Linked DNA regions of Homo sapiens: region 2 is linked to region 1. Evidence: promoter capture Hi-C in 16 types of primary human blood cells and fetal thymus (Javierre and others, 2016). All regions are on one chromosome and are shown on one strand. Each heading gives the region's core, a stretch centred on a gene start or on the middle of the fragment in contact. The rest is flanking DNA. Distances are from core to core; before and after follow the strand shown. Region 1 holds the start of GNRH2 (gonadotropin releasing hormone 2). Region 2 overlaps DNAAF9 (dynein axonemal assembly factor 9).

Evidence for each region. The method cuts DNA at HindIII sites, captures the fragments that hold promoters and counts their contacts. A CHiCAGO score of 5 or more calls a contact.
Region 2: a contact is called between a fragment that was not itself captured here and the fragment with the promoter of GNRH2 in region 1, in 2 of 17 cell types (naive CD4 T cells and naive CD8 T cells). The highest score is 6.7, in naive CD4 T cells.

Annotation. Positions count from the first base shown.
Region 1 is chr20:3,041,236-3,048,569 of GRCh38, forward strand. It overlaps GNRH2 (gonadotropin releasing hormone 2), which reads left to right and starts at 2,387. Exons shown (of 4, transcript NM_178331.2): 1 at 2,387-2,430; 2 at 3,173-3,333; 3 at 3,465-3,601; 4 at 4,451-4,512. The coding sequence starts at 3,180. The coding sequence ends at 4,501. MRPS26 (mitochondrial ribosomal protein S26) reads left to right here and starts at 4,817. Exons shown (of 4, transcript NM_030811.4): 1 at 4,817-5,045; 2 at 5,138-5,284; 3 at 5,379-5,502; 4 at 6,500-7,015. The coding sequence starts at 4,834. The coding sequence ends at 6,634. RefSeq lists enhancers at 4,299-4,358, 5,699-5,758 and a silencer at 4,459-5,328. The HindIII fragment of the contact is 14,485 bases long and covers 1,077-7,334 here.
Region 2 is chr20:3,300,281-3,307,389 of GRCh38, forward strand. DNAAF9 (dynein axonemal assembly factor 9) reads right to left here. Exons shown (of 37, transcript NM_001009984.3): 21 at 4,160-4,263. Among named protein-coding and RNA genes, the nearest start is that of SLC4A11, 65 kb to the left of the region's middle. The HindIII fragment of the contact is 910 bases long and covers 5,352-6,261 here.

The DNA of each region.
Region 1 (7,334 bases), core at 1,137-3,636:
AGGCGGACGGATCACCTGAGGTCAGGAGTTCGAGACCAGCCTGGCCAACATGGTGAAACCATCTCTACTAAAAATACAAAAATTAGCCGGGCGTGGTGGCACGTGCCTGTAATCCCAGCTACCGGGGAGGCTGAGGCAAGAGAATTGCTGGAACCTGGGAGGCAGAAACTGCAGTGAGCTGAGATCACGCCACTGCACTCCAGCCTGGATGACAGCGAGACTCCATCTCAAAAAAAAAAAAAGAAAAAGAAAAAGAATTAATTAATTAATTAAATAAAGAGCATGTCTCCCACCCCAGGCCTAAGTTCTTCCCTCTATGAGAGACTACTTGCAGAAACCTGTGTTCTCACTCTTCCCCCTTCCTCACTTCATTCCCACACATTTCTTTTCCATCCCTGCGCACCAAGGTCACCTTGGTGCTAAACACCAGGGACCCATGGTCTCTTCCCCTTTGTGTCACAGGCTGTCCTCTGCCTCTTATCCTCACCCTTTAGCTGCTCCTCCACTGTCTCCTCTCTCAGAGGTCAGGATTCTGGATCTGTCTCTGTGGACCCTCAGCTCTCCTCCAATCCCAAGTCCCCCGCATCCTGGTCGCATGTCAGGGTGGTCCAGAGATGCCTGCCTCCCACTGCCCACACCCAGGGGCCCGCCCTCCTTTCCTCTAACCTTCCCACATACTCTGGCCCCATGGATCCACGGCAGTTCCTGCTGGCCCTTCTCCATTTTGTTCCTTATGCTGCACCCCTCTGCTGCCACTCCCTGCGTCCGTGACTCCAGCTCACTCGTCTCTGTCCTTCACCCAGGCCGCCTGCTCAGGGTTTGTGCCTCTCTGTGCTCCTGCAGCACCTGAGTGTTTATTCACCTCTGAACCTCTGCTTTCCCACCTGAGTACACGCAGCTCCTGGCTGCAGTGACTTCATATCCTGAGGACTGGAGCTCCGTGGTGAACAGATGGCTTTCTATGTTCTAATGAGAGGGATACAAGAGTTCCACAGTTCTAGTCTGGAAAGGACCAAACATTTCTTAAAAGCTAAGTATGTTGCCGGAAAAAAAAGGGAGCAGAGCTTTCCCCAGGAAGCTTGGCTCTGGTTTAGATTTTTCAGGAAAAGCCGGAATCAAATTACAGAATAAATAAAGGCAACCATCCCCCTTTTAAAGGTACACCAGCCTTGGTGCATCTTTGAAGAAAGCATTCTGTAAACCCCAACCAGAACTAAACTAGTACGTCGAACTCAGATTCATTTTCACTAAACCACAAGCAAATGTTTCCCTAAAAATCACCCAGTTAACAAAGTCCGCATATTTAAGCCAAAACAATTTAACTGAACAAATGGGCCACACGTTGATTTCCGGTCCCTGCTAATAAGTCAGTCTGGAAGTTCACAGGTGTGCCCATCCTGCCTTGGCTGCTGAAGTCCAGGTGTCTAGGGCTGACTGATGCCCATTATGCCTCCCCTCCCCCATCTTTGTCACAGGATTTGACGCACCAGCTCTCCAAATGACCCTGGCCCTCCCATTTGCTGTTCAGCCCAAGTGCGGAGATTGGCTATGAACCCTGTAAACAGGCCTCTGACCCCCAGAGGCTGATGGCTGGCCAAGGAAAGCTGAGCTGCTGACGCAGACTGGGAAGCAAGAGCCCACTTCCAGCAGCCCAGGCTAGCTGTGTCCAAATCCATGACTGGGGAGGGGTTAGAGCCTTGAGGGACAAAATTATTCTACCTACCTAGGGAGACTGCACTGGCCCAACAGCTGGGCCCCATCTCATGGGCCCGCTTCTTCGCCAGGAGAGAAGCCACTCCGGGGTAGGTACTGCCCCACCCAAACCCAGCCATCTGGAGTGACCCAGCCCTGGTTCCCAGGTGTGTGGATGTGAATTGTCCCACCCAACCCACTCTACAGTGAGCAAACGGAAGCCCTCTGGGAGAGTGGTCACAGCCTCCCCTGTACCTCTGAACAGCCTGCCAGGCTCCCTACTCTTAGGCTTCCACTGTCCACCAGGGAAAGCCCTGAGCTGGGAGTTGGGGAGCCCCCAGGCATTGCCCCTGCCCAGGACACAATTCTCTTTTGGGATCAGGGAAGGCTGTGAGGGCTTTCTAGGTCTCAAGATCAGGAGCTTGAAGATGCAGCCTGGGAAGTGGGAAGGTGAGACCAGGACATAGGCCAGCCTAAAGCAAGAGTCCTGGGCCTGAAGGCTCCTGGGAAGGTGGTGGGGAGGGAGCATGTGTCGGTGGCCTCAGGGCAGCAGCTGCCTGGTGAATGTTCATGGACTGGATGCTCTGGGAAGCGGGTTGGGTGGTGAGCTTCTCTCTTCCCCTCTGAAGACGTCACTGGAGTCTGGGGGTGGAGCTGCCTGGTCTATAAATCCTGGGGCCATCAGGCTAGGGTCCTGCAGCTGCCTGAAGGAGCCATCTCATCCACAGCTCTTCCTTGGTGAGTGGGGAGCCTTCCCTAAGGGCTAGGACACCTGGACCAAGTTTCATCCTGGGCGTATGGTGTGCTGCTCCTCTTCCCCATTCCCAGGTGCCTCCACCCCTGAACCATGCCAGAGAAGTCCCCTTTTCCTCTCCTCTCCCCAACAGCTCTACCATCTATTCTTGTGCTTGTTGCCCCTGGCATGGGAGGGATAAGGGGTAGAAGCACTTGCCCCCATCAATACCACTCATCCATTCCACATCCCCAACTACTATGGAAGAGATACAGCAGGCCACGGAGAAAAGGGCAGAAGGCCTGCAACTCTGGTTCCCTAGCACTGGTGCTCCAAACACGCCTACATTGAGAACTCCCCTGACCATCCATCTATCCTCCCATCCATTGGCCTGAATTCAGGTCTCTGTTCCCCTCCAACTTTCTTCCACTTCTGGAAACTCCTTGAAGGAAAGATGGATGGACCTGGACAAGTGGGAGGGCCCTCAGAGCTGGCAAGGCAGGTAGCCTCTGTGCCCCAGGCTCAGGGAGAAGGCTCGTCCCCTGGAGCATCATCCCCTGCTGGGCCAGGATCCCCCAGGATCTGGACCCCTGTATGCTTGGGATGAGGAGCGGTGGCAGAGAGGGAAGGGCATAAGGAGATACCAAAGCTGCCCCTGAGATGCCAGTTTTCCAAAGTGGCCCTGGAGGAAGTAGGGGGATGTGGGGGTGAGGTAAGTCTCCTTGAATGCTGTACCCTGTCCATTAGAGCAGCCATGGCCAGCTCCAGGCGAGGCCTCCTGCTCCTGCTGCTGCTGACTGCCCACCTTGGACCCTCAGAGGCTCAGCACTGGTCCCATGGCTGGTACCCTGGAGGAAAGCGAGCCCTCAGCTCAGCCCAGGATCCCCAGAATGCCCTTAGGCCCCCAGGTGGGTGTCTCCCAGCCTCATGGGGAGGAAGAAAGTGATGGCCGGGGGCTCCCCCACCCTCCTGGAGCCTGAGGTCGGGGTAGGGAGGACAGCATCAGTTCCCTTCTAAGGAAGGGCCCTGGACACTGCAGCAGGCAGCCCAGTCCAGACTGCCCATGGCCTCCCAAGTGATGCCCTGGCTCCCCTGGACGACAGCATGCCCTGGGAGGGCAGGACCACGGCCCAGTGGTCCCTTCACAGGAAGCGACACCTGGCACGGACACTGCTGGTGAGTAGGGTGAGAGGTCCCCAGCATCAAGACCAGCCACTGGTCATCAGAGGCCATTGTGGCTTAGGGTTGGGTGCTGGGAGGGTGGGGAGAATGAAACACCACTGAGATGCCCCCTGCCACAGCACCCCCAGCCATTTCTCAGTGCCCCTACTGCACACAGCAGGGTGCTGTCTGCTATCCTTCCTATTTCCCAGGAGGATTCTAGACAATTTACAAAGCACTTGGGTTAAAGACCAAAGTCACTAGTAGACTAGAAGGAGATAATTGTTCTATAAGACAGTGGTGGCCATGGGATCCCACAGGCATCCTGACAAGCCAATGACTGTCTTGAGGTGGACAGACCCCAGGCCAGTGGAAAGAGGTGAGGGATGCAACCTCACTCAAACAGACAACAGGGCCAAGAGGACCAGGTGGTGACTGACATGTGCACTAGGAACATCTCAGGGACTGCAGAGCTCCCCAAGACCATAGCAGAAGACAGGCGTGGGGAAATGGTTTGCTACTGTTTTGCAAATCAAACATTTACAGTGCATCAGGAGAGCCCGGTAACTAAAGAAGAAAGTGGTTAGTTCCTATGAGGCAATGTCTTACCGCCTGATTTGTGTGTATGTGCTGAGGTTTCTATGCGTCAGGCTTGTTTAGGGTGGACAAGAGGGCATGCCCAAGGGAGCTGGAGATCCCCACACTAGCTGGATCCTCAGGCTTCTACGGGAGGCGGGGGGCGTCCTGCTGTGGGAGGCCACATGGGGACTGGGGGGGACGAGAGGGGAGAGAACCAGGAAGATGGCAGCTCGGCGGTTACGAGACCAGTGTCCTGAGACATGACCGCCACCTCTCCCTCCGCAGACCGCAGCCCGAGAGCCCCGCCCCGCCCCGCCATCCTCCAATAAAGTGTGAGGTTCTCCGAAGCTGTTGCGTCGAGTTCTGTCCTTCGTCCCCTCCCTGTCTTCCCCGCTGAGACCCTTCCCTGCGTGGGGGCTGGAGGGACGCGGGTCCGGCCCCGCGGGCGGGAGTAACTAAGGGATGGCCCCGGGCCCTGGCGGGAAGGCCGGGCCAGAGCCTGGGGGCGGGATGCGGACGTCCGCAGGGTCGCCGCTTCGGTTCCAGAGGCCACACGGCCGGGCGGGGCGTGAGGGACAGCCCGAGGACTACAGGTCCCAAGGTTCCCCGCGCCGCTTCCGGGGCACGGTGGCGTCCCGGCACCGCGGCCGCAGTGAGGAGACTCGGCCATGCTACGCGCGCTGAGCCGCCTGGGCGCGGGGACCCCGTGCAGGCCCCGGGCCCCTCTGGTGCTGCCAGCGCGCGGCCGCAAGACCCGCCACGACCCGCTGGCCAAATCCAAGATCGAGCGAGTGAACATGCCGCCCGCGGTGGACCCTGCGGAGTTCTTCGTGCTGATGGAGCGTTACCAGCACTACCGCCAGACCGTGCGCGCCCTCAGGTGTGCGGCCGGGGGGAGGTGGCCGCCCGCGCGCGCTGGTGACGGTGGGAGTGGGCGGAGAGGGTGCTGATTCCTGGCGCGTCTGCACCCAGGATGGAGTTCGTGTCCGAGGTGCAGAGGAAGGTGCACGAGGCCCGAGCCGGGGTTCTGGCGGAGCGCAAGGCCCTGAAGGACGCCGCCGAGCACCGCGAGCTGATGGCCTGGAACCAGGCGGAGAACCGGCGGCTGCACGAGCTGCGGTGCGTGGGGCGGGAGGCGGGGCGGGGCGGCGCGGCCTGGCCGGCCTGGGAGAAGCCCGGGCCCCGCTCAGCCTCGGCCCTTTGACCCTCACAGGATAGCGAGGCTGCGGCAGGAGGAGCGGGAGCAGGAGCAGCGGCAGGCGTTGGAGCAGGCCCGCAAGGCCGAAGAGGTGCAGGCCTGGGCGCAGCGCAAGGAGCGGGAAGTGCTGCAGCTGCAGGTGGGCAACGTCTCCGGAGGGTGGGACTCCAGCCGGGGACGCGGCTTGCGGGGCACTGGGAATTCTGGGCACCGCGACGCGGGCGCTGGCTATGTGCAGAGACTTACAGTTGGCAGGTCCGGATTTGGAGAGGAGAGTGCCAGTCAGGCGCAAAGACCCGGAGGTGAGCGGAGTAATTGGACAGTGTTCAGGTACCTAGCAGGTCTGTGGGAGGGACCCTGCGTTCCACAAAGAGGTTGTATTTTGCATAACAGGTGATGAAGCCATGAAGGGTTAAGTATTTCAGGCTAGGATTAGCAGGTGTGCGACTTAAAAGCAGGGAGACCACTTAGGAGTAATGCAGTGAGAATGGATGAGGCTTGATTTAAAGTATAGAAGGGTGGCTGGGAGCGGTGGTTCACGCCTGTAATCCCAGTACTATGGGAGGCCGAAGCGGGCGTATCACTTGAGGTCGGGAGTTCGAGTCCAGCCTGGCCAAGCCCCGTCTCTCCTAAAAATACAAAAATTAGCCGGGCGTGGTGTGCGCCAGTAATCGCAGCTACTCGGGAGGCTGAGGCATGAGAATCGCTTGAACCCAGGAGGCAGAGGTTGCAGTGAGCCGAGATGGCGCCACTGCACTCCATCCTGGGCGACAGTGAGACTCCGTCTCAAAATAAATAAATAAATAAATAAATAAAGTAATGGGGGGAAGGATGAGTTAGAGTGATTCAGAGGGGACCACTGAGGGACGGATTTCACCTACCAGGACGTGAGATTTTCATAGCTGGCACTCGGGGCTATGGCTGAAGTGTCTGAGAAAAGAGGAACGTGGAAAAGCAACCTGATATCACTCCACTGGGAGGCCAGAGGGGCTCTCAAATAGGACCTGGGTTCCAGGCATGCTTCCCCAGGGAGAGCAGGAGCTGCTTTCTCAGTGGGGTGAGAGGCCAGCAGGCTGGGTGGGCTGGCTGGCATGTGCCCAAGGCTCCTGTTCAGCTGGGCTTTTCTCTCCCGATAGGAAGAGGTGAAAAACTTCATCACCCGAGAGAACCTGGAGGCACGGGTGGAAGCAGCATTGGACTCCCGGAAGAACTACAACTGGGCCATCACCAGAGAGGGGCTGGTGGTCAGGCCACAACGCAGGGACTCCTAGGGGCCCAGTAAGGACAGTGCCCGCCAGGGACCATGTATGTATCATGGCGGAAGAGTTGGCCCTGACCTGGAATAAAGCAGTTGGTGTTGCTTATGAGGAAGGTTCAGCCTTATCCAGCACAGCCTTCACGTTTTGCCCTCTGCTGTCACCACTTGGTCAGAAACTTCCAAACGCAGTGCCCTGTTCTGCCGGTGTGTACAGCCTCAGCGCACCAGGAGACCCTAGAGTGGTTTCCATCTCACAGAGAATCAGACAGGGCCACAGCCCCCTCAGGCAGCCAGGTCATCTGAGTATCATTAAGAGTAGTGATGGGAAGATTACAGTCTGAGGGCCAAACGTGCCTGCTTCCTGTTTTTGTAAATAAAGTTTTGTTGGAACACAGCCACACCCACTCATTGACTTCTTTTTACTACAGTGGCAAAGGTGAGTAGTTGCAACAGAGACCATATGAATCCCAAAGACTAAAATCTTTAACTTTTTACAGGAAAAGTGTAGTGATCTCTCATCTGGAGCTTTAGGACTCTAGCCTGTGTCACCCAGGACCTGAGCCACAAGCTAACCATTGGCCAGGCGCCTGCCTCTGCTCTATACTGTGCTTTGCTGGCCAGAGTCTGGTGTATCCAAGACCCAGAAGGCAAAGAGGAGACCCCATTTTTTTCTGGGTTCCACAAAGAGGTTGTATTTTGCCTTACAGGTAATG
Region 2 (7,109 bases), core at 4,557-7,056, 260 kb after region 1:
ATTGTCTTAATAGTAAGTCTTCTGAGTCACGAACATGGATGTTTTTCCTTCATTTAGGTTGTCTTTAATTTTTCTGCAATATTTTTCAGTTTTCAGTGTACAAGTCTCTCACTTTCTTGGTTAAATTTATTCCCTAGTACTTTACTCTTTTTGATGCTAATGTAAATTGAATTGTTTTATTTTTCTGAGACAGGGTCTCACTCTGTTGCTCAGGCTAGAGCACAGTGTGGCATGATCACAGCTCACTGCAACCTCTGTCTCCTGGGCTCAGGAGATCCTCCCACTTCACCTCTCAAGTAGCTTGGGACTATAGGCACCTGCCACCATGCCTCACTAATTTAAAAAATTTTTGAGGCTGGGTGCACTCCAGCCTGGGTGACAGAGCGAGACTCCATCTAAATAATAATAATAATAATAATAATAATAATAATAATAATAATAATAATAATTTTTTGTAGAGACGGAGTTTCACCATGTTATCTCAAAGTCCTGGACTCAAGTGATCCACCTGCCTTGGCCTCCCAAAGTGCTGGCATTCCAGGCTTGAGCCACTGCATCCAGCCCTGGAATTGTTTTCTTAATATCTTTATCAGATTGTTCATTGGTAGGGCATAGAAATGCAACTCATTTTGAAAAAAAATTATAAAAATACAACAGAGAAGAAAGTTTTAAAAAAATTAATAGAAAGTCCCATCACCTAAACCCAACTACAGCTAACATTTAGTACTTTTGTTTTCCTTTTTTTTTTTTCAGAGACAGGGTCTTGCTCTGTCTCCCAGGCTGGAGTGCAGTGGTACAATCACAGCTCATTGCAACCTTGAACTTCTGGGCTCAAGTGATCCTCCCACCTAAGCCTCCCAAATAGTTGCGACTTCAGGTATACACCATCATGCTTGGCTTTTTTTTTTTTTTTTTTCTTTTTTTGAGATGGAGTTTCACCCTTGGTACCTAGGCTGGAGTGCAATGGCGCAATCTCAGCTCACTGAAACCTCCGCCTCCCAGGTTCAAGCGATTTTCCTGCCTCAGTCTCCTGAGTACCTGGGACTACAGGTGCACAGCACCATGCCCAGCTAATTTCTGTATTTTTAGTAGAGACGGCATTTCACCATGCTGGCCAGGCTGGTCTCGAACTCCTGACCTCAGGTGATCCGCCCTTCTTGGCCTCCCAAAGTGCTAGGATTACAGGCGTGAGCCACCACGCCCAGCCCCTTATCCTGTTTTTAAAACTTAATTTATCATCACCATCAGCCATGTTATCATACACTATCAGTAAACATTTCCAGTGACTGCACTCTCTTCCCCTCTTGGGCCACTTACACAGCTTGACATGAGCTATTCCAGTTCTCCTCTGCCAACAGTTCCTCAGGATTTATTCCTTAGTATAAATTAGTATGCTTTAATACTATATTAGTGTAATTTAACAATAAATGCTAAGTTACTGTTACATATGATAGCAGGAGGTTGTTAATGATGTAACTTCTTCTATCTGTTAAGTAGCCTCATGTCCTCTGAACATCCCTGAACTGGGACTCAGTGTTTTCATGTTAATAAAGATACAACTCTTCGCAGAAAAAAAATATTAACTCATTTGTCTAAATCACCAAAAATGTTTTTCCCAATTTTAAAAATTTGCCTTTTGAAATACTTTTAAAAAATTATATATATATATGTATATATATTTTGAGACATTCTCACTCTGCAGCCCAGGGTGGAGTGCAGTGGTGGGATCTTGGCTCACTGCAACCTCCACCTCCTGGGTTAATGCAATTCTCCTGCCTCAGTCTCCCAAGTAGCTGGGATTACAGGCATGCACCACCACGCCCAGTTAATTTTTGTATAGTAGAGGTGGGGTTTCACCATATTGGCCAGGCTGGTCTTGAACTCCTGACCTCAGGTGATCCACCTGCTCCAGTCTCCCAAGGTGCTGGGATTACAGGCATGAGCCACTGTGCCTAGCCATAAAAAAATTTTTTTATTTTTAATTAATACATAATATGCACATATTTATGGGGTATAATATATTGTTTCAATACATGTATACATTATGTAATGATTACATCAGGGTAATGAATGAGAAATCCATCAACTCAAACATTTATCATTCAGAATCTTCTCTTCTAGCTATTGTGAGATCTGAACACCTTATTGTTGACTGCAGGCACCCTACTGTGCAACAGAACACTAGAATTTACTCATCCTTTCTAACTTTGTATTCATCGATCTACCCCTCCCCATCCCCTAAAATACTTTTTAAAGGGTTTTTGCATTACTAATTAGTCTGACAAATTTTATGATATACCCATACAATGGAATACTACTTAGCAATAAAGAGAACACAGCTATTTACATACACAACATGGATGAATCTAAAAATCACTATGTTGAGTGGAAAATGTCAGACTCAAAGGTTACAGAATAGATGATGTTCATTTATATAACATTCTAGAAAATGCAAACTAATATATAGGGACAAAAGCTAATCAGTGGTTGTCTGAACCCAGGAGTGGAGGGAAAGATGAAAAAGGGCATGAGAAAACATTTTGGTTTGATAGTAAAGGTGGTTTCATGAATGTACACATCTGCCAAACCTTTAAATGGATACAGTTAGTTGTATTTACAGTATACTTTAATAAGTTAAATTATCAGCATAAAATTTTTAAAAATCAGTAACTGGTCAGCTGGGTGTGGTGGCTCATGCCTGTAATCCCAGCACTTTGGGAGGCCGAGGTGAGTGGATCACGAGGTCAGGAGATCGAGACTGTCCTGGCTAACATAGTGAAACCCCGTCTCTACTAAAAATACAAAAACAAAATTAGCCGGGCGTGGTGGCAGGCGCCTGTAGTCTCAGCTACTCAGGAGGCTGACGCGGGAGAATGGCGTGAACCAGGGAGGCAGAGCTTGCAGTGAGTCGAGATCGCACCACTGCACTCCAGCCTGGGCAACAGAGCGAGACTCTGTCTCAAAAAAAAAAAAAAAATCAGTAACTGGTCAAATTTGACAAACTTTTCCTTTAGAATTTCTTGTATTGTTTCTAAGCTTCAGAAGTCTTCTAACCCCTAGAGGTTTAATAAATATTCATTTTTATATTCTATTTGTGAAATTTAAATATATTTAATTTTAATCCCTCAGAAGTTCATTTTGATTTTTAGTAGAGGTAAGAGTCTATTTTTTGTCGAAATTAGCTACTTATCATCCCAGTACTGTGCTTTTCATGATGCATTCTTTCTTCCCTGATATTGGAAGACTCTTTAATCTAACAGCAACACTTTAATCTAATAGGGCCATCCAATGTGTCCAATTGGTCTGCCTACATTTCTGAACAGCCTTTAAGGCTGCAGGCTCTATATGGAAGAAAAACTTGCTCACAGAATTCGTTTTCTGAGCCATCTGACCAAAATACCTCACATAGTCTCTGTCCTAGCTCCCAGACAGACTGGTTTTGAGGCTGAGACCAGGCAGAGTGGTGGGCCTGCCCTCTGCTCTGGTGTTGCACTGAGACGAGCTGTGCCTTGGCCACAGGGTAAAGGCTAGGGGAAACCCATAGCTACCATCTTCCCCTTAAGGTGAATGGGAAGTGTTGGTGCAGACTGGTGAACTTAGAGGATTGTTATAGGACAGTGGAACTTTTATGGAGCTGGAGAGGAAGTCTGGGTGTGTGAGGGAGGAGGGGCTAAACTCTCACGGGGAAAGTGAGCCATTTCTCTCCCTCTCTGGCTCACTTACAATCCTGTCCATGCTAATGTGTATGCTGAGCCTCATCAATACCACAGGATGCAGCTCCTTTCTGATTTTTCAGTGGGTGAGCCTTGAGCCCCTGGACCTGGAGGCCACCCAAGAGGGGCCACTGGAGGCCTTCTCAGCCTGCTTTATAGTCCTCTTTAGGGTGAATGAATTGGGCATGGGGAGCTGCTGGCCCTTCTGACCAGAAGCCCTTTCTAGGTAAGCCCTTTACAGAGCAGTGAGGTTGATGAGGCTCGTAAGCGTCTTGAGAATGCCCAGGCCTCTCCACGACCTCCCTCCCTGCCTGCCTCAGTGGCTGTGCTGGTTCCTGACATACTGCCCTGTGGTAGTGGAGGGGAGAAAGGAGTTATTTAGTTTTCCCCTCAAAAGTGTGAGCAACTTTCCGACCAAAAAAGCCACTGACTAGTAAAACACCTACCCCATCATAGAAGGAAATGGAATTCATGTGATCCTTGGAAATGATGATACTTCTATGACGACAGTGAGAAAACAGAAGGCCACTAGAGAAGAAATGAACATTCCCTGGAAGGAAAAGAGAGTTGGTCAGAGCTGGAGGGCTGGGTGCTGGGGGTCAGATTCCAATGTCCTCTTGTACAGCAGTGTGGTAACTAGAGGCCAGTATCAGTAGCAATTACGTTATGCGATTTGTATGCTGAGCCCTGTGCTCTGAGGAAGCCAAAGTAACCTCCCAAAGCCTCAGAGGGAAATGAGGCATCAGATGCAGTCTTTGCATAAGAATTAGAAAAACAAGTGAATAAACTATCAGCTAATGGGGAGAAGCAAAATTCACATTACCTTATGGGTATCTTCCACGGAAACACACTAAAAAAGACTTTGGGTATATCTGCTCCATTACTGAGTTTACAGATTTTCCTTTCTTCTGCTTTGCCAGAAGCTGGCTCGGCCCTAAAGAGACCACATCCCTCACTTAGGGCCCGAGAAGGAGCACTTGGGTCTCAGCTGAAGACTGGTGAAGGGAGCTTAAGGTCCCTGTGCCCAGCAACAGAACATTTGAGTTAGGTAATGAGTAAGTTCTACAGACACTGGGGGGCTGCTCTTCTGTAGTTCACAAAAGCAAGATGGGTGACAGGTGGACATGGATGTGGGTTCCTCGGAACAAGGATTCAGGTCTAAGGAGAGCTGTTGTTTCCTGGATGGTCAAGGTCATATGGAGCAGCTCAGTATAGGCCCTAGGGAGCAGACCATGGAAAAGATGGACAACTAAGATGACAAAGATTAATGCTGGGCCTGGGCTTGCTTTGGAGACACAAAAGCAGCACCCAAAGCACCCATAAGACTCCTAGGTGAAGCTGCTCTCTGGGGCTGGTCCAAGCTGAATCTTCTATTCCTGTAACAGCTTTTCTTTCCATGTTTCCGCATATAGAGGGAGATGAAGTAGTTCTTAAAGCTCAAGGCACAGGTTTGAGTTTATTGTCATTAAGACCTCACTGCCAAGGCAAAGGCCAAGAGATAAATAAGTGAAATTGATTCCTTAAGTTGTAGCTCCAGAAAAGCAGTGCAAAGCTCTGGAGGCTGGAATGACAAGAATAGCAAAGGCCAGGAGTCTGAGGGCTGCCTTCACATCCTGGGTGAGGAATCTGGAGACTGCAAGCTTTGAGGGCTTCCTGAGGAGGTGAGGTTTCAGAAGGAAGGGAGGGGCCTAGTTAGTATGTGTTCACAGGGGACAGGAGAAGTGAAGGGAGAAGGAGGCAGTTTTTAGGTACAAGAAGAAGAACTGGCACCTGCCTCTCATGGAAGAACCAGATGCCCCGTCAGAGGGACATGCCAACCTTACCATCTGTGGCAGCCACAGCCAGCGACTATCTAGGTTCAAGCTCTGGAAACCTCTACCCTCCAACAAGTAGCCTGGCTTTCTGTGCACACTGCCTTTTCCTGAGGCCCTCTGAAAAGGAGGCTAATCATGCCCCAGCCTCATCCTGTACCAACCCTAAAGTTCCTCCATGCTGCTCCCAGGCCAGTCTCCCCAACACCACAGCATGTTACTTTCATTCCCCTAGAGACACAAGCCCCTCCCTCTACTGCTCACACCTACTGCCCTCCTGACCATGCCATATTTCAAATCACTCTGAATGTGCTCAGTCTTCCCTTCCAATGCCAACACTCCCATTCCTTCTTAGAGCAGTAAAGCTGCACCCAGAATGTCATGACTTCTGAAATCTCCAGCCCAGCAACTACTCTCTGACTCCAGCACCCCATCCCCCTTTTAGCTGTTTCCCTCCCCACACCCCATCCTCTGATGTCACTGAGCCTTCACAGTCATTGGTATTCGCATTTTCCCCTATTGCTCAGAAATTTCTGATATTCTTCTCATCCACATCAAGGGCAGATCCTCTGGGACAGGACTTAACCTTTAATCTTTGTTCTGTTAAAAGAAAGGAATGGGAACAGGTTTCACGCAGTATTTACTAAGCACCACACATGTCATACATTATAGTTTTCTGTTTTCACAATTGTAACAGGTGGTATTATTTTTTCTCATAGGACAGATGAGAAAACTCAAGCTTAGAGAGATTTCCCCCAAAATCACAGCATTACTTGGTGGTGGAGCCAGGTACAGAACACAGGTTTGTCTGATGCCAAAGACACTATACCATGCTGGTGCCTTCAGTTCTCTCATGTTTTTTTTCTTTCAATTCTCCCCTGTCCAAAGCCCAGCTGTGGTGAATCTGTAGATGTGCCTTCTCTGCTCCCTCAACCACAACAGGCCACAGTGCTGCCCCGTAGCCTGTTCACTGCTGTCTCCCCACTCCTTCCATCAGCCCACAGAGCTCATCCCAGACCTTCAACACTCTCCTAAAACCACAACCCCACCAACTCCTGCCACAAGATGACTCTACTTACTGTTTCCAGAGATAAGAGGGCTCCATAGGTGTCACGAGGTAGAAACTGCTCCTGCTGCTGAGTGGTTAGTACCTGCACCCTTCCCTGTCCTGGGTATCCCTCTACATTTGTACTTTTGAAGTGAACCTTTTTAGAAACAAGTCCAGTGCCACTTGAAAGGCCTCCTGGACAAAGCTCAAAATCCTGAAGCTTCCAGAAAAAAGCACAGATTGGAGAAGCTGGCACATTCCATTTACTCAATAGGAAGATGGGAAAGGATGAGCGAGGTCATCTCCAGCATTTCCTCTCCCACTAGACTCTGAAGCCTCAAAACAAAATGGAAAAGAGGAAGACAAATTCACAAGACAGTGCTGGAAGAGCTCATTATGGGGCATGAGCCAAGGCAAGGTCTCAGTAAACAGGATCTGATTTCAGTACTGTCCTGTGATCTGTCCTGTGATCGCAGCTGCCCCTTAGCCTGGCTCTATGAGCAGTAACTCTGCCATTATTCTCAGAGCACACATGAG